4 separate regions of the Homo sapiens genome follow, and regions 1, 2 and 3 are each linked to region 4. The links are contacts of gene promoters, found by promoter capture Hi-C in blood cells and fetal thymus (Javierre and others, 2016). All regions are on one chromosome and are shown on one strand. The core of a region is centred on a gene start or on the middle of the fragment in contact, and the rest is flanking DNA. Distances in the headings are between cores, read along the strand shown.

What was found. The method cuts DNA at HindIII sites, captures the fragments that hold promoters and counts their contacts. A CHiCAGO score of 5 or more calls a contact.
Region 1: a fragment that was not itself captured here is called in contact with the fragment with the promoter of MECR in region 4 in 6 of 17 cell types (naive CD4 T cells, non-activated CD4 T cells, naive B cells and 3 more); the score reaches 12.1 in naive CD4 T cells.
Region 2: a contact is called between a fragment that was not itself captured here and the fragment with the promoter of MECR in region 4, in 2 of 17 cell types (activated CD4 T cells and non-activated CD4 T cells). The highest score is 7.1, in activated CD4 T cells.
Region 3: a contact is called between a fragment that was not itself captured here and the fragment with the promoter of MECR in region 4, in 1 of 17 cell types (activated CD4 T cells). The highest score is 5.3, in activated CD4 T cells.

What each region holds. Positions count from the first base shown.
Region 1 is chr1:30,787,122-30,789,821 of GRCh38, reverse strand. No RefSeq gene overlaps it. Among named protein-coding and RNA genes, the nearest start is that of LAPTM5, 31 kb to the right of the region's middle. RefSeq lists an enhancer at 1,439-1,951. The HindIII fragment of the contact is 4,549 bases long and covers 1-2,700 here.
Region 2 is chr1:30,392,833-30,395,532 of GRCh38, reverse strand. No RefSeq gene overlaps it. Among named protein-coding and RNA genes, the nearest start is that of MATN1-AS1, 320 kb to the left of the region's middle. The HindIII fragment of the contact is 7,712 bases long and covers 1-2,700 here.
Region 3 is chr1:30,359,231-30,361,930 of GRCh38, reverse strand. No RefSeq gene overlaps it. Among named protein-coding and RNA genes, the nearest start is that of LINC01648, 320 kb to the right of the region's middle. The HindIII fragment of the contact is 6,766 bases long and covers 1-2,700 here.
Region 4 is chr1:29,229,619-29,232,318 of GRCh38, reverse strand. It overlaps MECR (mitochondrial trans-2-enoyl-CoA reductase), which reads left to right and starts at 1,385. Exons shown (of 10, transcript NM_016011.5): 1 at 1,385-1,588. The coding sequence starts at 1,413. RefSeq lists enhancers at 1,374-1,483, 1,008-1,508, 1,509-2,009. The HindIII fragment of the contact is 2,647 bases long and covers 996-2,700 here.

The DNA.
Region 1 (2,700 bases), core at 31-2,530, 1.6 Mb before region 4:
GGGTTTGGAGTTGGGTGGTGGAGATCTGGTCTGGGTTCTATCCCTAAGCTCCTAGGTGTGGGGACATCAGCTTTTGTTACCCCCATTCTTGGGCCAGCAAATCCAATTTTCCTTTGGGGTCCCACCCTCTTCTCAGTCCTGGGGTGCCATGTGGGGCTGACACTGCCCCCGCCGCCTCACCCCCACTCCAGGAGTAGACACATTATCCCCAGACGTGGCCACTGAGAGTCCTGCAGACCTGTGGCAAGTGTTTGTCAGAGGGGAAGCATGTGTCCCAAGGTAAGCCTGGATCCAACCGCACCTGAAGTTCACTCTTCAACATCCTGGTCATGCTTGCAGAGTCCCTCGTCCTTTCAAAAAAGCCAGTCTGAATCAGGTGCTTGTCACTTGCAAACAAGAGTTGCCTCTGAAGACACAGCAGGACCTTGAATAAGTCCTTTGTCTTTGGTGGGCCTCAGTTGCCCTGTCTGGAAAATGAAGGGTTGGATTCTCTGAGGTTCTTCCAGCTCTGGAGGTTCACAGCCCCCATCTGGGCCATGTGACTTACACATCGAGGGGGGCCACAGGTGGACAGGCTGACTCTAGTGGAGACTCAGTTGCTCTGTGGCCTTGCCAGGAGAAAGCTCGGCGGGCATGCTCTCCCCAGACCTCCAAAATGCTGCCTTGGAAAGGAAGCAGTGGCTTAGCAGGCACCCCCTGGGGGTAGGGGAGGATCCGGGGGCATATTGGGGTTCCATCCTGTGACCAGCAGTGATAGGTGCTGCCCCTTCTCTGCATCTCTCAATGGCTCCCAAGTACCTTCAAGATTAAGTCTTATCCCTTTAGATGGGGAAAGAGCAAGACTTCTCACAGGGCTTAATAAATATTCAATGAATGAATGAATGGAAGAACAAGCACATTCCCTTCATGACCAGGCTCCCTGGCTGACTCCGCAGCCCTAAACTCCCCAGCCCTAGACCCTCCTCCTTCTGCTCTGCACAGCAGCACTCCCTGCCTTCTTGGACACGCTATGTCCTTTTGTGCCTTGGCCTTGTACATGCTGTTCCCTCTGCTTGGAACATCTCCTCCCACCACCTGCCTGGCAGACTCACGTAGCCTTCAACACTCAGCTCAGCGCATTCATCCGCTGACTCAGCCAACATTTCTGGAGCCCCTCCTGTGTGCCAGGCATGATCTATGTGCTGGCATTGAACAAAAAAGGTATAGTCCCCCTTCTCAGGGAGCTGCCTGCTTGTGGGGAGGCCACCAGCTGGGGATGCATGAGCTGAAGGACATTAAGCTGGGGGAAGAGATGGGGAGTATTGTGAGGAGCACTTTTTGGGGTTCTCTGATCCAGTGATATTTTGAGGTGAGGGAGTGGGCCTCGCAGGTCTGGCCCAGGCAGAGGTAACAGCAAACGCGCAGGCCCTGAGCTGGGAGCCAGCTTGGAATGTTTGAGAACCGGCAATGAGATCCCAGCGGTTGGAGTGAGGGGCGAAGGGCAGGGGAAGAGGTTCAAGAGGTCACAGCCGAGGGCTGGGGGGCAGCTGCACACTTGCTGGCCTTTTACCCTGAGTTGGGGGTCACTGGGGAGGGCAGGACGGGAGCGTTTTGAAGCAGGGACAAGGGCAGAAGTTGGGAGGTTGAGGTGGCAGCAACAGGAGCCATGGAAGTGGTCGGATCCTGGGTCTGCAGGCGTGGGGTGTCGGAGAGACAGGGTCGAGGATAAGCAAGGGGGCATCATCACCCACAGAGTTGGGGGTGCCGTGAAAGCAGGTCTGGGGCAGGGGCCGCCAGGGCTGGGTTTGGGCCTGTGGATTTCGAGATGCCGTCACTCAGCTGCGTGAACTCCTGGAAGTGAGCATGGACACAGGAGTCCCGTGCTCTGGGGAAAGGCTGGGGCTGGAGGTGTGGGTCAGGGAGAGAGAAGGTGGTGGAAGCCAGAGACTGCGTGGGTCACGTAAGGAGGGAGTGAGGGTGGGGCACAGGACCAGAGCCTCCCAGGAGGTCAGGGAGGCCAGGAGGCACCGGCAGAGGAGCCAGGAAGCAGGAGGAAAACCAGAGCGAAGCTGCTGAGGACTGGAGAGGAGACCCAGCCTCCCTGTGTTAGGTGCTGCCGCCGCCTACACCCAGAGGCACTTGGCTATTTGGTCCTGCCACAGGCAGGCCATGGGTGATCCTGAGAAGACATATGAGGATGAAAGCCCAGTTGAAGCAGAGAGGGAAGTGGGGGACTGGAGAGTGTGGCAGAGGGGTCAGGAGTCAGGGGGCATCTCTACAGCAAAGCCCTAATGAAAGGGGGGAGTCAGGGATGTGGATGCCTTGGAGGAAAGTTCTACCGGCAGAGTGAACAGCTGGGGCAAAGTCCCCAACCATGAGTGGGGCAGCCTGTGTTTGGAGAACTAGCAGAAGGCTGTTTTGGGGGAGGTGGGCAGCCCAGGGCTTCGTGGGCTGGGAGCAGGCTGGAGTTGAGTCTGCCTGAGGCTAATGGGCAGCTACAGAAGGCTTCGAGTGCTTGATTTATTTATTTTTTTAAAATGCCCTTGGCTGGGCACGGTGGCTCACGCCTGTAATCCCAGCACTTTGGGAGGCCAAGGCGGGTGGATCACTTGAGGTCAGGAGTTTGAGACCAGCCTGGCCAACATGGTGAAACCCCGTCTCTACTAAAAATACAAAAATTAGCTGGGCATGGTGGCAGGTGCCTGTAGTCCCTGCTACTCG
Region 2 (2,700 bases), core at 95-2,594, 1.2 Mb before region 4:
AAGTTCCATGAATCCTTTCCTGGAGAGTCCTGCTGTCCCTGCTTGGGAGACACTTTGTGTCTCTCAAGTCTGCTTCCTCATGACAAAGTCTGTTTTTACATGGTCAGAGGAATCCTCCTCACATAGGCTTTCACAAAAGCAGTTTTAAATTCCAATGAGGTCTACTTTATCAATTTATTTTCTGCTATGGGTCACACTTTTGGTGTTTAAGAATTCTAGCTGGGTGCTGTGGCTCATGCCTGTAATCCCAGCACTTTGGGAGGCTGAGGCGAGTGGCTCACTTGAGGTCAGGAGTTTGAGACCAGCCTGGCCAACATGGTGAAACCCCGTCTCTACTAAATATACAAAAATTAGCCAGGTGTGGTGGCAGGTGCCTGTAATTCCAGCTACTCTGGAGGCTGAGGCAGGGGAACGACTTGAACCTGGGAGGCAAAGGTTTCTGTGAGCTGAGATCGAACCACTGCACTCCAGCCTGGGAGAGAGAGTGAGACTCCATCTCAGAAACAAAAACAAACAAAAAGGACTCTTTGCCCTAGGTCATGAAGATTTTTCCTACATTTTCTTCTAAAAAGTTTTATGGTTTTGTGCTTTACATTTATCATTTATGTATGTTATTCATTTTTAGTTATATAGAAAGTGTGCTGAGATTCCTCTTTTGCTTATGGATGTGTAATTGCTCTAGCACCATTTGGTGAATAAGATTAACTTCCCCCATAGAATGGCCTTTGTACCTTTGTCAAAAATCAATTGAACATGTTTGTGTGGGTCTATTTCTTCGTTTTCTATGGATGTATGTATCCCTCTTTTAGTACCACGGTGTCTTGATTAATGTCGTTGAATAGTAAGCCTTAATGCCAGCTAGAGTGATTCCTTCCATATTCTTTGTCAAAATTGATTTAACTTTCTAGAACATGTATTTTTCCATGTAAGTTGATGAATAATTCGCCTATGTTTACTAAAAGGTCTGCTGGGATTTTGATACAAATTGCATTAAACCAGTATATCAATTTGGTAAGAACTGACATCTTTACTAAGTTGAATACTCAAAACCATGAACACGGTCTTTTAAAATTTCTCTTGTAAATATTTTATATTTTTCAGTATATAGATTCCATATGTATTTCGTTAAGTGTATAGCTAAGTATATTATTTTCTTTAGTGTGACTGTAAATGGTATTGTGTTTTAAAATTTGATTTCTGCATATTTTGTTAGCTTGGAGAAATACGCTTAATTTTTGTGTGTTAACTCCGCAACCTGAGAACTTACTGAACACATTTACTAGCTCTGGGAGATATTTTCTAGATTCTTTGAGATTTTCTATGTAGATAACTGTGTCATCTGCAAATAGAGATAGTTTTATTTCTTCTTTTACAAACTATATACCTTTTATCTGTTTTTCTTACCTTAATGCAGTGGCTATAAATTCTAGTACAATGTCAAATAAGATAAATGAGAGCAGGCATATCCTTGCATTTTTCCTAATCTTTTGTATTTTTTGTTGCTAATCATACAGCATTTGACCACTAAATAATTTGTCACCTGTGGTTTTGTATAGATGTTATTTATTTTCCTGAAGAAATTGTATAATATTGGTGTTTATTCCTCTTCAAAAATTTGGTAGAAGTCTCCAGTGAAACCACTTAGGCTGAAAAATTTCTTTTTCAGAAATTTTAAACATTATGAATTTAATTTGTTTGATGGCTATAGGGTTATTCAGATTACCCATTTTATCTTGGCTTGCCTTTAGTAGTTTATGGTTTTTGAGAATTTGGTCCAATTCTTCTATTTTATGAGCATAAGGTTGTTCATACAATCTCTTATTATCCTTTTAATAGCTGCATGGTCTATAGTGATATTCCCTATTTCATCCCCAATATTAGTGATTTGTGTCTCCTGTTTTTTTTTCTTGTATCTTCTTATTTGCTGAAGGTTTATCAATCTTATCATTTTTTTTAAAGAGCCAGCTTTTTTTGTTTCATTGATTTTACTTATTGTTTTCCTATTTTCAATTTCATTGATTTTTTGCTCTTTTCGTTATTTCCTTAATTCTGCTTGCATTGGCTTTATTTTACTCTTCTTTTTCTAGTGTCTTGAGGTAAGAACTTAGATTATTGATCTGAGATCTTTCCTTGTTTCTAACATAGGCATTTAATACTATAATTTTTTTTCTTTCAGCACTATTTTGGCTGCATCGTATACATTTTTGATACGATGTATTTTTGTTTCCATTCAGTTTTATGTATTTTTTAAACATTCCCTTTAAGACCTTCTTTTTGACCCATGGATTTTTAAAGAGATGTGTTGTTTAATTTCTACATGTTTAGGGGTCTTCCAGTTGTCTTTCCATTATTGATTTCTACTTTGGTTCTGTTATAATCAGAGAATATCCTGTATAATTTCAATTCATTTATATTTTTTGATGTTTGTCTCATAGCCCAGTATATAATTTATCTTAATGAATGGTCTGTGGTTGCTTGAAAGAGTATGTATTCTGGTGTTGTTGGCAGAGATTGGAAGAGTGGATAAAAAAACCACATTTTTCTCCCATATGTGTCAATTAGATTTTGCTGGTTGATTTTGTTGTTCAGATCTTCTATATCTTTGCTAATTTTCTGTCTAGTAGTTCTTTCAGTTGCTGAGAGATGTATGGTTTGAAGTGTCCAGCTACAATTGTGGATTTGTCTGTTCTGTCAGCTTTA
Region 3 (2,700 bases), core at 94-2,593, 1.1 Mb before region 4:
GCTTGGCCATGGGGGAGCGACTGGGACTGCAGACCCTTCAGCCTCCCTCAGGCTGAGAGAGGGGCTGCCCAGACCCCCTTCTTCCAGCCAGGCCCTCCCTGAGCCCCACAGCTGGTCTGGCCCAGCCTGGCCCTGCAGCCCCCTCTGTGGGCACTCAGGCTGCATCCAGCCCACGCAAACTGTAAAACTCTATGTAGTTTAAAGGCTTTGGAAACCAGGATATTGGTGGTACACTGGCTGGGGCTCTGGGGGGCTGTCCATGTGACCCCCTCACCTCAGCCCAAGCTGCTTCAGAAGGTGAACTTGAGCACTTCACACTGTGCCTTTCCCCTCCCCTCATGGAGAACATCAGCCTCTTTAATGCAGGGGCGCAGGGCGGTGGCCTCCCCCGCAGTCAGGACCGCAGAAGCCCAAACCAGGAGAGGGTCAGGGACAGTGGGAGACAGAGACAGATGGTGACAGGGACTTGGTGACAGAAGGAGCCAGTGATGGGAGAGAGGCAGAGGGAGGCCTTGGGACAAGGCAGCCCCCCCCACCCAGAACCTGGGCCCTGGGGACTTTCTTGGGGGTAGGGAGTCATTGGGGCTCAGATGACCCCCCTGCTCTGTGGTTAATTTTCTCAGAGAAAAGAAATCACTCTCCATACAATTAATCTAGTTAGACATAATCAAGTTGTGGGGAATCCGTGCAGCAGGGTGAGTGATTAGGAAAAATTACCTCCCTGCAAAGAATTTAAATTTCATTTTTATTCAATAAAGACCAAATAGAAACAATTGGGTTCCCTACTGTTCCTGGCCAGCAGCTGAAAATTTTCTAGAATGGGACATCAGCTCAGAGTCCAGCAAGGACAGGCTGGGGACACAGAAGATCTGCTAGGAGTCACCCACAGGATCTGGGCGTTGCCCGAGGGGAGAGCCACCGCCACGGCCCTCAAGTGTTTCTCACACTCACACTCTGAGACTAAGGCACATGTTCTCACGCACTCTGCATTTGTGTCCTTAACTGTCACACACACCATTTCACATGCATGCACTGACAGTCAGGAGCTCTGCTGAGTCCCGATGCCTGTCCCAGCTCTGCCACCAACTGGTTGTACAAACACTGAGCTCCCTCTTAGAGCCTCGGTTTCCCTGCCTGTGACAAGTGAGACTTAGACTCCTTTTCTGGAGCATCTACCAAAGGTGACAGCTTGGAATTTTTCTCTCTCTCAGCCTCTCTCTCCTTATTTCAAATTGAGACTGAGTCAGAAAAAATAAAGTCTGGGAGGCGGCAGCCCAGGGGAGTTCATAAGGTGATTCTCATTATCAAGGGAGGCCTCCCCTCCATTAGCAAACTGGGGACTCATGCAGCAGCCCTAGCTTAGCCCCAGGGCCTGGGTCCAGGGCCTGGGGGAGCAGAGAGGGCTTTGCTGACCTCACATGCACATGCACACACACCTGGACCCCACCTTTCATGCTGAGCCATGTTGCCACCACCTCCAAGGAATGGGGTTTATCAACCTGTACCAGTCCCAGGGCCAGGCCCATGTCCCCGCAAGGCTAGGACCAGCCTCCACCCTCTGGGTCCTCTCATATTTCTCTGAGGATGGAGCTGATGAGGGATCAGTCCAGGAAGGTGAGAGAAAAATCATTTGGAGCCAGAGCTGAAGATGCATTAATTTATGTTCTGTTGCTTCTCCAGCCAGAGCTGGACAGTTTGGGGAAGTGAGTGGTCAGGGGGCTGGTCAGGGGCTTTGAGCCCCCAGGTGGAGGAACAGGCTGGAGGATGGGCTGAGCAGGTGGGCATGTCACCGAGGGGTGACATAGGATCCTGCCGGCTGCACGTTGTCCCTCCCCTCCCTGCGTGGCTGTGGCTACAGAGCCCACCTGCATGACCAGAGGCTCCAGGGCAAAGGGCCAGTCCTGCCCCAGCAGTGGGAGCTTAAAAGGTTCTGGGGCAGGGAGTGTCGGGGGGCGGTGGGTGTGGATCTGGGGACTGGCCTAGTGTTGAATCCCAGCCATTGGCTCACTGAGTGACCCTGAGCAGCTTCCTCCTCTTCTCTGGGCCTCAGTTTCTTCATCTGTCAAATGGGGCAAGGATCCTGCCTAGGGTGACATGTGGGCTCCCCTGAGCACGGGAGGGGCATCTGCAGGCGCTCAGTGCATGTTTGTTCCTGTACCCTCTGCAGCCCTGCAGCACCTGGCTCCAAGTCAGTGCCCAGCAAATACTCGTGAGCCTGGTGAGAGAATGAAATGAGCTCATGTTTGCGTCTGCACTCACTGCAGCAAACTCTAAAGCTGTGTTGGCAAATTGAACAACCAGCAGTCTCGCTGGGTAACACGCTTGGGGTTTGGCTGTCAGACATCAAGGAGGAATTCCTGGAGGAGGCTTGCCTTGGGCTGGGCAGGAATTGAATAGAGGAGGGGAAAACAGGTGAGGAGGAGAGACAGCCTGTGCAAAGAGGAGAGGGGCCAAGGTGAGGCCACGTCCTCTCTTGTGCTCTCTGCCAATGGCTGATGGGAAAGAGTTTGGGTTTGGAATCAGACAGATCTCAGTTCGACCTGGACAGGTCCCTCTGTATGCGGAGCCTCCGTGCTGTCAGCTATGAAGTGGGGGGAACATCACCCCTTCCCCACAGGGTGGTTGTGAGGCTGGCACAGGCATTTTGTATGTGTGGAGCCCCAGCACAGTGCTGGGCATCCAGAGACGCTTGATACCAGG
Region 4 (2,700 bases), core at 136-2,635:
TACTAAATGCTTCAAGTGGATAATATCTCACTTGACCCTCACAACAATCTTGAAACAGATAACTAGTATTCCTTCCATTTTAAGAGTAAGAAAGTGAAGACACAGAGAGGCCTGGTGACTTGTCCGAAATCAAATGGCTGGAAAATGGCAGAGCTAGGACATAAAGCCAGGTTTGTCCAAATCTAGCTCACAGTACTTTGCTGTGCTCTCTTCCTCAGAGGAAAGGCTTGGAGATGGCAAGCTTCAAGTCAATAAAATCCAGGAAAGGAACTCTTCCTTATCCTTCAAAGCCCTGGCTCAGTATCTTAAAACCTGTTTCCTGGGACACCTGCATCAGAATATTCTTGGGAGCTTGTAAGGATGTAGATTCCTGGAACCCCCATCCGCAAGATTCTAATTCAGTAGGTCTAAGATGGGACCTCGGATTATTTTTATGCACACAGAAGATTTTGAATCACAGGGCTGGCTCTAACAGCACCTCCTCCAAGAGCCCCCACCCCATCCCACCCCATCCCAGAGCACTTCTCTTCAGACTACAGCATTGCACTCTGGCACGAGCCACAGCTCGATCTGGGGTTTTAGTAATGTTCATGTCTTCCCTACACCAAAAATCAGACTAGATCCTTCATAGGGCTACACCTTTTTACAGGCATTTCCAGTGTTCCACTTAATCCCTTTCTACACTGTGAGCATTTTGAGAGAGGACCCTTCTCCTTGTGATTCCTGTCTTACATCTGAACAGAGTTTTTTACAATGCGTTCTCCCACCCACAATAGCATTCCTCTATTATTTCATCCAATCCTCACAACAATCCGGAAGGAGGCATATTATCCCCATTGTACCGATGAGAAAAATTCAGAGTTTCACCTGCCCAAGGTGGCCAAGCTAGGAAGTGGCAGGGCTAGGATTTGAACCTAAGTTTTCTAACTCCAAGCCCCATACTCCTGCCTCCACAGCAGCTTTCGTGTACTCTCCTCAGTGTAGGGAAGTAAGCTTTGCCTCCCTATGCCGTTACATGGTAGTGGTGATTAAATGAGATAATACCTTAAAGAGCCTGGCTCGGTGAGCACTCAATATATTATGTGAAGGGTAAACTGAGGCCAGGGAGAGTAAATATTTCCTCCAAATCAAACACCAAACTGCAGGCTGTAGACACGACTTTGGACTAGCCCCAGACTCTCCTTGTTGAGACAACAGCTTTGGCGGCCTCGCAAGCTCCGCACCCCCGGATCCCTCCGGGGCCCACACGCAGTCTAGCCAGGCGCCACCACTTGGGCAGCGAAGGAAGGAAACGCCCTTCAAAGGGACCAAGGGGGAGTGGTCACCCGGCGGGGCAGGGGCGGGGCGCAGGCGCGCGGTCGCTGGAAGATGACGTAGCCGGGGCGTCAGGCTCTGTGTTGGTTGGAGCGAGCATGTGGGTCTGCAGTACCCTGTGGCGGGTGCGAACCCCCGCCCGGCAGTGGCGGGGGCTGCTCCCAGCTTCTGGCTGTCACGGACCTGCCGCCTCCTCCTACTCCGCATCCGCCGAGCCTGCCCGGGTCCGGGCGCTTGTCTATGGGCACCACGGGGATCCAGCCAAGGTCGTCGAGTAAGAGACGGCGCCGAAGCCGGGGAAGGGGACTGGGGTTTCTGGAAGGCTTTAACACGAGCTGCGGACTGGGAAGAGAGGGACAGGGTCCGAGGAAGGGGGCAGAGAATAGCAAACCGAAGCCGAAGCCCAGGGCGTTTTTGGTAGGTCAGAAAGACCGTACTTGAAGGTAGCTGAAGACCCGAGAGGCAATTATCAGGGTATTAATGGCTGATGTTTATTGATCGAATATTGTGTCAGGCAATCCCTTGTTTAAATGGATGCTCTCATTTAATTGTCACAACAATGTTTTGGGGTAGTTATTGATTTATCCCCATTTTGCAGATGAAAACTGAGGCAGAAGAGGTAAAATCACTCGTCCAAGGTCACACAGCCAGTAAGTGACAGGGTCAGAATTCCAACCTATGTCTGACTGACCTGCGTGAGTTCTTACTATTATTATTATTATTTGGAAGAAGTTTTCAGAATACTTTTACATCCATTTGGATCTTCATGTGTCAGTAAAGAGTAGGTCATAGATCATTGTTTCCAGAGGGCAAGGGACTTGCCCAGAGTGATACCGCTAATAAGTGATTGGAACAGGAGACTGGAATCCATGGCTTCTGATTCCAAACTCATGTTTCTCTCCACTGCACCGTATATGCATCTTGGCTTGGTTAAAAAGAGCTGCTTTGGTGCCATACAGACCCAAGTATCTATATTTGGTCAAATACAGGCTCAACGTCTTAGTAGCTGTTTGGTCTTAGAGAAGTCATTCAACTTCTCGTTACTTTTATGACTTTGTCCTCCTCCTAAAATTCTGTTGGATCTTAATTCATGCTTTTTGCACGTGGTTGATAAAAATAGTATGTCAGTTGCCAACCATTGTAAATCTGCACATAAATAGCCATTCAGAAGGGCTATTGGGGCCACTGAAGTGGAGCTAAAGCAAAAGCACAGGTCTGGGAATCAAAATACTTGGGGTCAAATCCTTGTCCTAGCTTTGCATTTGGCAAGTTACTGAGGTTCTCTGAGCCTCGGTTTCATCATCTTAAAAAATGGAGACAGTACAGACAAAGTTCATAGTGGTAATCACCTAAGATCTATGTAGTGCTCTCCACCAAAAAACACCT